3 separate regions of the Homo sapiens genome follow, and all the other regions are linked to region 3. The links are contacts of gene promoters, found by promoter capture Hi-C in blood cells and fetal thymus (Javierre and others, 2016). All regions are on one chromosome and are shown on one strand. Each heading gives the region's core, a stretch centred on a gene start or on the middle of the fragment in contact. The rest is flanking DNA. Distances are from core to core; before and after follow the strand shown.

Region 1 (3,770 bases), core at 666-3,165, 210 kb before region 3:
GCCTCTTTCCTTCTGTACTACAGGGCCAGCTAGCAAATTTTCTGATTTTTTATGCTCTGATTTCCTTTTAATTACAAGTTCCTACTTTAAGTCACTTCTTTGCTCCCATATCTGATCATAGCCTGTTAGAAGCAGCCACACCATATCTTGAATGCTTTGCTGCTTAGAAATTTCTTCTACCAGATACCCTATGTCATCACTCTTAAGTTCATGCTTCCTTAGATCCCTAGCAGCCAAGCTCTTTGTAACAGTGTAACAAGGGTGACCTTTGCTCCAGTTCCCAAAAAGTTTCTCATTTCCATCTGAGACCTCATCAGCCTGGGCTTCACTGTTCATATTTCAATCAGTATTTTGGTCACAACCACTTAGCAAGTCTTGGAGAAGTTCCAAACTTTCCCTTATCTTCCTGTCTTTTTCTGAGACCTCCAAATTCTTCCAGTATCTGCCCATTACCCAGTTCCAAAGCTGTTTCCACATCTTCAGGTATCTTTATAGCAACACCCTACTCTCAGTACCAATTTTCTGTATTAGTACATTTTGCATTGTTATAAGAAATAATAAAAGACTGGGTAATTTATAAAGAAAGGAGGTTTATTTTGGATCATAGCTCTTCAGATTGTACAAGAAGTGTGATGCCAGCATCTACTTCTGGTGAAAGCATTAGGAAGCTTTTAGTCATGGTGGAAAGTGAAGGGCAAACAGGCATGTCACATGGCAGGAGAGAGAGCAAAAGAGAGAAGGAAGAGGTCCCAGGCTCTTTTAAACAACCAGATCTCACATGACCTCATGGAGTGAGAACTCACTCATTACCACAAGGACATCACCAAGACATTCATGAAGAATCTGCCCCTATGACCCAAATACCGCCCACTAGGCCCCACCTCCAACATTGGGGATCACACTTTAATGTGAGATTTGGAAGAGACACATACCCAAATCATATCAAAATGTATTTGTTAAGCTTCTATTAAAATAATGTAGGAGAAGAAAAGATAATGCATACCAAGTAAATGAACAAGGAGAGATCAGATTATAAATCACTTTTGTATATATCATCTGTATTTATCTCTAAGAAACTTTAGAATTTTTAAACTTTGGAATTTTTTCTTCAGCTTTTATTTTTAGCTTTAGAGGGTACATGTGTAAGTTTGTTACATAGACATATTGCGTGACAGTGAGGTTTGGGGTATGAATCCCATCATCCAGGTGTTGAGCTTAGTACCCAATAGGAAGTTTTTCAATGTACACTCATTTCCCTCCTTCCCCACTCTAGTGGTCCCCAGTGTATATTGTTCCCATCTTTATGTCCATGTGTACTCAGTGTTTAGCTCCCACTTATAAGTGAGAACATGTGGTATTTTGTTTTCTGTTTCTGCATTAATTTGCTTAGAATAATGGCCTGTAGCTGCATCCATATTGCTGCAAAGGACATGATTTTGTTCGTTTTTTATGGCTGTGTAGTATTCCATGGTGTATATGTACTATATTTTCTTTATCCAATCCACCATTGATAGGAATCTAGGTTGATTCCATGTCTTTGCTATTGTGAATAATGCTGCAATAAACATATAAGTGCATGTGTCTTTTTGGTAGAAGTCTTTATTTTCTTTTGGGTATGTACCCAGTAATGGGATATAGCTCTGTTTTAAGTTCTTTGAGAAATCTTCAAACTGCTTACCATGGTGGTTGAATTAATTTATATTCCAACAACAGTGTATAAGTATTCTCTTTTCTCCACAGCCTTGCCAGCATCAGTTATTTGTTGACTTTTTAATAATAGCCATTCTGACTGGTGTGAGATTGTATCTTATTGTGGTTTTGATTTGCATTTCTCTGATGATTAATGATGAGCATTTTTTCATGTTTGTTGGCTGGCTGCTTGTATGTTTTCTTTTGAAAAGTGTTTCTCAAGTCCTTTGCCCATTTTTTAATAGGGTTATTTGTTTTTCTCTTGTTGATTTAAGTTCCTTATAGATATTGAATATTGGACCTTTGTTGGATTAATAGTTTGCAAACATTTTCTCCCATTTTGTAGGTTTTCCATTTACTCTGTCTGTGGCTTCTTTTGCTGTGCAGAAGCTCTTTAGTTTGATTAGGTTCCACTTGTTAATTTTTGTTTTTTAAACTGGATTTTTAAACCCCATTTTACAGATGCAAAAACTGAGACTTAAAGAGACAATTTTTTTTAAGATCATAAAATTGGTAAGTGGTGAAGGCAGGTTTTAAATATAAGTCTTTTAAAAATTTTAAATCTCAGCTTCATGTATGTAATTGGTCAGTCACTGTGCTCGATGTGAAATATACAACTGTGAATAAGATGCAATTTCTGACTTCTGGGACCTTACTGCTTGGTGGGAAACACATGGGTTTAAAATTTACTTCAATGCAATCTGATAAGCTGTATGCTGATGATAGGTGCAGAAGGTGGTGCCAGTCCCAAGAATGGGTAGGATTTTGGCAGACAAAGATCAGGACAGCGTTTAAGTGGAAGAAATTGTATAAGCAATGACGTGGAGGCTAGGAAGTTGTCCTGTTAAGTTGGAGTCTAGGGGCATTGTTGGAAACTGAGTTGGAAATGTACACTGAAGCCAGATCATGGAGGGCTTCTATGAGCATTCAACCAACACTTATTTATTGGATGTACATCATGACAAGCTATTGTCCGAAATGCAAGAGAACAGCAGCAAACAAGACAAACAAAATCCTTGTTCTTATGGGCCTTACATTCCAGTAGGGAGAAAAAGATAATAAATGAGTAGCATAAAAACAAGGTATCAAACATGAAAAGTGTTAAGAACATTGGCAGCACAAATGAGGAATATATGGTAGAGGCTGATTGGGGTGATACTTTTTTAAAATAAATGCCAGAGAAAGCTTCTGTCACGAGGTGACTTTTTAACTGAGACCTGAATGAAATAAGGATTGAGCCACACCAAGATCGAGAAGAAGACTATTCTGATCAAAAGAAATAGCTGGTTCAAAGGTCTCCCGGTGGGGATCAGCTTGTCCTGCTAGAATCATGGAAAGAAGGCCAGAGTGATTAGAAAACAGTGATGCAGAGGACAATGGTGAAAGATGAGACTTTGCAGGGCCCCATCCTATAGGAAGGTCCTGAGAACAAAGCTGGATTTTATTCTCAATGTGGAGGGAAACTACTGGGAATTTCATGTAGGGAGTGGCACAATGTGGTCTACCTTTTTGAAAGGGATGGGGAGTCCCATCAGGAAGCTGTGTTCTAGGAGAGGTGACCTGGACTGGGATGACAGGAGTAGAGATGAAAAGAATCATGGATTTGGGCTGTTTTGTATTTTGAGATAGAAAAAAAAAAAAAGGATTTAGCATGTAGATGATGCACTGAATGTTGAGCAGCTTCCAGATTTTGAATTCTTTCACCCTGATTCTCCACCTTCTCATTTAGTTTGCTGGAGAGAGTTTAAATTATAGAGAATATTTGTGAAGGAGACTCATCTTACACATGAACACATATGTCATATAAACAGCAGCCAACATATGGGCGTTCCTGTTGATCTTGAGGCCCAGGACAAGCCATGGCCCTTTGCATTTCTCTCTCCCCCAGGATCACAGTCCTAGCTTAGATGCCTTTCTTCTAAGTCCGTCTTAGGACTCTTTCTCAGTCCTTCTAGGTATAGCTACTTACTCCCTTGGTGTCATAACAGTAATTTTTTTGTACTTATGACTTTGTGCCTTGCATAATGGTTGTTTGCTGTATATATTTGTCTTACTGTATTTTTATTTCCTTCAGGAAAGCA
Region 2 (3,923 bases), core at 857-3,356, 190 kb before region 3:
TGGCCTCCAAAACCCATAAGTAAGAAGTAATTTTGAAATATTAGAAAAAGTTAACTAGAAGGTGATGACAAAGAATCTCCTACTTCAAGGCCTCTGTAGTTGCTGTTTCCACAGAAATACTGTTCCCTCAGTCACATGATTTAATTCCTCATTTAATTCAAGTATTTACTCAAGTGTCACCTTATCAGAAAAATTTCTGGCCATCCTGTAAATAGCAAACTTTTCCCACTAATTCTCCATTCTACTACTCTGCTTTATTTTTCTTCTTGGCACTTATTACCGTCACTTGAATTAGTACATATTTGTTCATTTATTATCTCTCTCCCCCACTAGAAAGTAAGCACCTTGTAGCCTCAGTGCCTAGGACAGTGCCTGGCATGGTGGGTAAATGTTTGTTGATAGGATTGAGTGGTAAAAGCAAGTCTCTTCATTTAGAGAGGATGACAGCAGAGAAAAGGTTAAGTGGAAGACTATAAGATCAAGAAAGGCCTGTATTATATGAATATAGTTATAATCACAATTACCTAAAATACTAGAATAAGGAAGTCCCATCTTTTTAAGGCTTGAAAAAGGTAAGATTAAGACAAAGGGAAGGAAGTTTTATTTTACACAACAGGGCATAGTTTAGGGGAATTCCTCGATCCAAGAAGTGGTGCCTTGTGGAAAGTAAGAATCTGTTCATAGATTTCTGGAACATCTGGGTACCTTTCTAGCCATTTAGCCTTGGGGGTTTCGTTAGCTTTCTTGCATTCTGCTCCTGGGGCCTCAGTTAGAGGCAGGCTCTTGTCTGAAGACACATGGGGCTGGTGTCAAATTGGCCATTTTGGATGTTTCTATGAACCAACATAATGAGAGAGAGAAGTGAGAGGGCAAAGAACAGAGGTTGTTAAGAGCAAAGAGGAGGGATGGAGGGTTGGAAAGAGACCGAGTGGAGAATAAGGGATTGGTATTTCCCCTGGGTCTTCACAAGTGGGAGACACAGGGAAGAAACCCTGGCAGAAGTGTTTACATTTGAAAAGTTTAGAGGACTACCATAGACCTTGGGTTAGAAAGGTTCATGCATTCTATGGTTTCTTCATTTAACAAATGTTTATTGATAACCGACTATGTATCAGACACTCTTCTAGAGATGGAGTTTGCAGCAGTGAAATCCTGCCCTCATACAGCTTTTACATTCTAGGCTGGGGATACATACAATAAACAAAGAAGTAACGTGTGTATGTCAGTGCCAAGTGCTATGGTGAGAAAGATACAGGGAAGGGGACAGGAAGTGCTGGATGGTGGGTGGAATGGGGGGCAGGGACAGGTTGTGATTTGTAACTGGGCAGGTGACCAGCGAAGGCCCCTCTGAGAAGGTGACATTTGATAATGGCCTGAAGGAGGCGAAGTTTTCTCTCTGGCTTCAACCAGAGGCCTCCTTGGTCCTGGGCAGCTGGGTTATTTATGTTTAACTGTGTGCTCCTGAGTCTCATTTCCTTCCCTGGCCCAGGCTCTCTAGTTTCCTTTACCCAGTAAATATTAGGCGCTGGGGACACACCATGAACAAGACAGAGAGGCTCCATGACTCTGTGGACCTTTCAGTCCAAAAAAAGGAAATAGGTAAATGGTTATTACCCAACAGTGTGAGGGATGCTGCATTAGGACATTTCCAGCTCAGAGCAGGGCATTGTTCTTACTAGAGGGTGATTAGGAAAGGCTTCCCAGCTGAGATGGAATCTTCAGTTGGAGTTTGTCTTTTCTTCATTTCCAGTCCTTTGTCCTTGTCTTCTGTCCACTCCTTTCTTTGCTGAATATTTCCTCAGATTTCAAGTCCCATCTCACATTTCTTGTTGTGTTAGACATCATGACTGATTTTTCCTTGGCCTCTACTTCCCAGTTTAATGAAGATAATAGCTATTGCCACCCACATACTCATAAGAATGCAGAAGTGTTACAGGGGATTAATGGCATTTTAGGATTAAGGACATGATGGTAGTTTAAAAGCTTTTAGCGCCTCCTAAATTAGGAGATCTACCTGACATTGCTAAGCCTCTCAGATTTCGCTGTGGCAATAGTTCTGTTTCTCCTTAGGCTCACACTAGCTACTGTTTGGAAAATTTGGGCACAATTGTCTTGGGTGTTAAGTCCTTGTCCTTTGGACCCCACCTCTTTCCCTTATAGGACTTTGTGATAAGAGAGCTTAGTAATGTGGCACTTGATGAACTTACAAGGGATGTGACAGGTGTCAGGGAAGCTTGATGATTGTCAGCCACAGCCACAGTGGGAACTGATGCAGACTTCTCAGTAGTTCTCTTGTTCTTGTGTCACAGACCCCACTGATCTGGGTGGGGGGGGCACCAGAGGCCTTAGAAGCAGGACACCTTTCTCTATCTGGGTCTTCATAATCTGTCCTGTCTTCTATTTCTGACTCCATCTCCCCTTCAAAACTCCCCTGCTCTACTTAAAATGATCTCTTTGCCTAGCCTTGGGTGCATTTCCACATCTCCAGTAAGGTGGTAAGTCCTCTGAAGTAGGTTTCATTCTCCCCTCAATCTCTTTAAATCTACCCATCCTTCAATGTCCACTCCCAACAAAACCACTCGAGTTCTTTAATCTCTCTCCAACCTGCACTTGGGGATCACATCTTATCTCATAGAGCTTCTTTGGTTCAGATCAACATCTACCTCCATATAGAGTCGTCAAGCTGGAACAGACCAGCACTGCTTAGCTCTAATCCAGTATTTTTCAAACTGTGTTCCTTGGCACCTGTCAGGGGCTGAGCTGAGCAGACAGGATTCTGCTGTTTATCCCCATTCAACTCACTGCTTTTATCTTTAAAACATCTGAAGCTTTTCCCTGAGGAAAGGATTCTGCAGTCAAAGAGTTTGAAAACTATAATATCAAATTTGATTTGTTTGTAAAATGGAAATAGAGGCCCATGTACACAATGGCACATCGCTAGGCAGTGCTGGAATCAGCACCCCAGGATCCCAAGACCTATGCTTCCTATTAACAGAAAGTATCAGTGGAGTTGTGATGTGCTCTGTTGTACTATCTAGAGTGAATTAGAATCTCTTTGAAATCATAAAATGTCTTATATATCCTCGTTCTTTGGCACAATGCCTTGCTCATAGACGCTTAACAAATATCAGCTGCCACTGCTGATGGTGATGACAAGGGTGACACACATCTAGCAAGCCCCCTGAGAGTACCCTGGGTGGCTTTCTTGGCTTTGGCCCTTCCACTGATGTGCTTATGGCAGTGGCTGGGCCCTCAGTTCAGGCAAGGCACCTCATGGGGATCCTAACTGTGCTTTTAGTTATCTGCAAGGTCAACAGGAACCAACTCTGCCTTTATTCCTCATCCTTTCACCACTGGCCTTAAAGCTGCTTCACCAGGAAACTGGAATACTCCCTAACAAACAAAGTGTCCAAGCTTGTGTCTGGCTCCCTTGCCTGAACTCCTCTTTCTACTCTGTCTACACATGTTTTTAGTTTAGTTTAGTTTAGTTTTTTGAGACAGGGTTTGCTCTCTCCTCCAGGCTGGAGTGCAGTGGCGCCATCACGGCTCACTGAAGCCTCAACCTTCCAAGCTCAAGTGATCCTCCCACTTCAGCCTCCCATGAGTAGCTGGAACTACAGGCATGCTCCACCACACCCAATTAATTTTTGTATTTTTTGTAGACATGGGATTTTGCCATGTTGCTCAGGCTGATCTTGAACTCCTGGGCTCAGGTGACTCTCCCACCTTGGCCTCCCAAAGTAGTGGGATTATAGGCATGTGCTACAATGCCTGGCCTATACATGTTCTTTTATGATCCACCTCCTTCATGAAGCTTTCTGTAATTCCTCAGGCTCCTATTTATCTTCGTGTCTCTATTAATCACACTTTTACCAAATATTTATCGAGCTCTTTAAACTATGCTATGTACTTTACATCCATCC
Region 3 (4,220 bases), core at 497-2,996:
ATTCACCCACTTCGGCCTCCCAAAGTGCTGGGATTACAGGCATGAGCCACCGCGCCTAGCTGAGTCCTTTTTAAGTAGATGGAATAAAATGCTGGCATTTTATTTTTGATTCTTAATCATGGCTATTTTGTCAACTCCCTATGTAGATGATTTCCCTTTCTATACTTTTTTTTCCATTTGATAGGATAATTTATTAATTCGTGTCCTAGTATAATTTTATTTTCTGCTTTTTCTAAGGAAAAGCCTGGGTGTATGAGAAAGTCTGAGAGTCTATGAGGTAGGAGTGCATAGGTGGAAAAGTGAGGACGAAACATTCACTTTCTTTAAAATATCTGCTGCTTTAACAGACTTTCTGGCATCCCCAAAATACCACTCATAGAGTTTGCTTAGAGTTCACTGGGGCTGTGCACTTTTTAGCTGATCTGGGTCATACAACAGAGCTTGTACAGGACTCCAGCAGCCTTCAGTTCTGGCACATGGCTCTCACCTTCAGAACTGGATGAAGCTCTTTCTCCAGAAGTTCCTTTAGTTCACCCTTGCTCAGTGTGCCACACTCCCCATCTTGCTTGGTGTATTTGTAGAAAACATCAATTACGGTGACAACACTTCTCAAGAGGTCGGTCATCTTTTTGCAAGTTTAAGTGAACCTGGACACAGAAAAACAAAGAACCCTATTATTCATATTCTCTCCTTTTATCAGCAATTTTCATTTTAATAATAACCAGCATGATTTTTTTAACCTCTTGTTTTTTAAATCTCAAAACGTAAGAATGGGCCAGGGATGATACAACCCCGTTTAACACAATGAAAATTAACTTTGTTAACTTTGAGTTACTTTTCTGTGATCAAGTCTTGGCATGTTACTGGTTCAACTGAGAATAGACCTCAAGTCTCTATATTTCCTGTCATGGGTAAGTATAGTCTCTACATAGTATCTCTACACTTTGAGTGTGTTGGCATTCTGGGTGTTGTTCTAAGGCTTCCAAAATTTCCAGAACCAGCCAGACACCATTGCCTCAATCTCTCTTTCTAGTTTCACTGCTTTTCTTGAGTCAAAAGTGACAGACCTTCCACCATGCACATCTGTTTATCCTCTGGGCACCAGAAGCTAAACTGGACCCTTAAGGCCTTCAGCAAATTAAAAATGGGCAAAGGGGCTCAAAATAGCTTGGTGTTTCATAGGCATGAGACAGTAGAACTCAGTAGAGCTTAGGAACTCTCTTAATGTCAAGCACTTGACCAAACACTGTTTTCTTTAATTAATCAAGAAGAAGAGCTCAGCAATGCAGGCAGCAGTTTAACTAGTGGATAATTAGATCTTGGAGCTCTGGGAACCAACACTGAATAAGGAAGGGACTCTGCAACAGACCCAGCTGCCTCCCAGTTTGAGCTGGACAGCCCAGAAAAGAGGGCATGGAAAAAGACTCGGAACAGACTGTGGAATGGCCTAGAGGAAGGTGAACTTTTACTTGCATTATTCTTCTCCATAAAAATGAACTTAACTACAAAAAGGCCCCAGAATAAACTAAACTAACCAAACAAATAAGCAAACAAAAAGAAAAGAAAATGAAAGAAAGAAACAAAAAAGAAAAGAAAGGCAAAATATACATGAACTCTGCCTTAGCTTATATCCCTAGACTTCTACTATGGACAACACCAAATATTCATAAATGTAGCTGGATGAATTTTCTCTCACCTGGTTCACCAAAGGAACAAGTAGGATAAAGCCTGATGCAGCTTGCAGGGTGACGATGGATTGGGATAATGACCCTTATATAGCTTATAGTGATTATAGTGAATGAGGTGATTCATTTTCCATCAAACCTAACTCCACCTCTACATATTTACCTTCCTCCTTCACATTGTTATCTACAGATGATTGCAGAAAGGCTAGTACCAGCCCCACCTTCCAGTACGAGGACATGGTTGCAAGATACCTTTTTTTTCAGGGTCATATACATGTGAAAAGCACAGACTTTGTTTTAGAGGACTCATGTTATACATTTCTTTTAACTAGTACCCACAGAAAGTAGCAGAGTGTAAGATACTTGGAAGGTGCACAATAAATGCTTATTTAATTGAAAATGAACCTGAGCCACTAGGTTCATCTAATTCATGTCTTTTTTGTAATAATAAAAAGTGACATTTATTGAGAATTTACTATGTGCTAAATACTTTAAACAAACCATCTCAATCTTTAAAAAATCTGCACTTTTAGTTATGGGTACATAGTTGTATATAATTGTTGGGTACATGTGATGTTTTGATATGGGCATACCATGTGTAATGATCAAATTACAGTAATTGGGGTATCCAGCACCTCAAGCATTTCTTTGTAGTAGGAACATTCTAATTCTACTATTTTAGTTATTTAAAAATATACAATAAATAGTTAACTATAGTTACCATATTATGTTACCAAATACTAGATCTTATCACCTCATTTAATCTTCACAACCTTCATACGAGATATGTATTTATTATCCCATTTTATAGAGACAGGTTCTGGAAGCATAAGGATCTTCTCCAAGGTCATAGCTAGTAGGCAGAGAAACCAGAAGTTGAACCTGTATCTACCTTATTGCAATTGCTGTTTACCATTATACTAACTTACCTCTGTGTATTTATCATATATAACTATCATGCAAAAATTATGCACCATTTTAGGAGTGTAAGGCCCACTCAAACGCAAATAATATAAAAAAGTAACATACAGAGTGCTGTTAGGAAGAGAGGAAACATTCTCTGACCTTGTGAAGGCTCATTTCTAGGCTAGAAAAGTGTAATTGGCTATATATAAAAATAATGTTTTCAGATATGTTCAGGGTGAATTTAGAGTGAGCTTTCTTCCAGCACTCTGCGATCCACTGGTAGTCTGGCATGTTTAGGGCCTGGACCCTTGGGAAAATGTTCACTTATGTACAGAAAGTATATCAAATACACTTGAGGGTAACAAAAATAATCAGAGAGCTGTAAGTCTTAAGCATGGAGAGCCAATTCTGCTGTACTTTGCTACCAGGTGATAATGATGATGATGAGGAGGATAGCAGCTACCATTAAGTGCTAAGTGCTTACTATCTTCTATACATGGTAGGTTTACATGCTTATCTATTTATTCCTCAAAATAACCCCATTTTATAGATAAGGTAATAAAAGCATAGAGCAATGTAAACATTTGTTACAAATCGCAGCTAGTTAGTAGCAGCACTAGAACAGATACACATGCTAGCCGATGCTAAAGCCTAGCACTTAACCATATATATTCTACATATATGGAGTCAATAAACTCCTATCTGGGCATTGCTTTGGGCCAGTCATCATATCTTATTCATTCCACCATCTAGGCAGCACCTAGAGCTTGGTAAACACTAAGAATGAGTGTCTGTTCATAAAATGTTAATGAATAGGCCCTTGAAATATGTCAATTGCTCACATAGCCAAGGAATCCTAGACCAAAACAACCACACAGAAAGTTATGGTTGCTGTTGGATACTATGGTCATTTTCAATCATATGCATCTTTTGGAAGTGCATTTTTGTTAAGATGGCTGCTGTGTCAGAAAGACTTTCAGGCCCCAGACTCCACACTGAGACAGAATTTTAAAGCATTTTTGCACTGTCACTCCAGCATTATAGTTGAGAACTCTGAAACTCCTCCATAGTTCAGAACTCCATTATTCAGTCTTTTGTATTCTTTGCATTTAGGTCTCTCTTCCTCTTCTACTTGCTTAGCATAATGGATAAAATTATAGTCAGAAAGACCTAAGTTCTAATCTCAATTTTGCCTCTTACTGCATTTCTTGTACAATTATCTAATCTTCTCAGCCTCAGTCTCCCAAATTATAGAATGGGAACAATAACACTTACCTAACAGGTGGCAATTACTTAACATATGAAATTGCTTAGTACCTGCCTGGCATATAATACATTCTTAGTACACTATATAATTACTGCAAACTTATTTTGATAAATATTTCATACAATCTATCACAGCATTTTACACAAAGAAAGTACTTGATAATGTTTGATAAAAATGAGTTAGAAGCCACTTACTAGTGGCTTTTAAAGGTAGAAATACTACACCTCTGTCAAAAGCATTGCCTAGAAGGTAAGTCATGGTTCTGAAAATAAACCACCTTTTTTGGGATATAATTCACATATCATAAATTTCAACCTTTTAATCTGTTTTGTGTTTGCCCCCAGAATACTGTGCTGGCAGTG

What was found. The method cuts DNA at HindIII sites, captures the fragments that hold promoters and counts their contacts. A CHiCAGO score of 5 or more calls a contact.
Region 1: a contact is called between a fragment that was not itself captured here and the fragment with the promoter of FLG2 in region 3, in 1 of 17 cell types (naive CD8 T cells). The highest score is 5.7, in naive CD8 T cells.
Region 2: a contact is called between a fragment that was not itself captured here and the fragment with the promoter of FLG2 in region 3, in 1 of 17 cell types (total CD8 T cells). The highest score is 5.3, in total CD8 T cells.

Annotation. Positions count from the first base shown.
Region 1 is chr1:152,148,427-152,152,196 of GRCh38, forward strand. No RefSeq gene overlaps it. Among named protein-coding and RNA genes, the nearest start is that of RPTN, 8.9 kb to the right of the region's middle. The HindIII fragment of the contact is 1,913 bases long and covers 960-2,872 here.
Region 2 is chr1:152,170,907-152,174,829 of GRCh38, forward strand. No RefSeq gene overlaps it. Among named protein-coding and RNA genes, the nearest start is that of RPTN, 14 kb to the left of the region's middle. The HindIII fragment of the contact is 250 bases long and covers 1,982-2,231 here.
Region 3 is chr1:152,358,260-152,362,479 of GRCh38, forward strand. It overlaps FLG2 (filaggrin 2), which reads right to left and starts at 1,747. Exons shown (of 3, transcript NM_001014342.3): 1 at 1,697-1,747; 2 at 488-647. The coding sequence starts at 625. The region is part of intron 7 of CCDST (cervical cancer associated DHX9 suppressive transcript); the gene reads left to right. The HindIII fragment of the contact is 5,522 bases long and covers 1-4,220 here.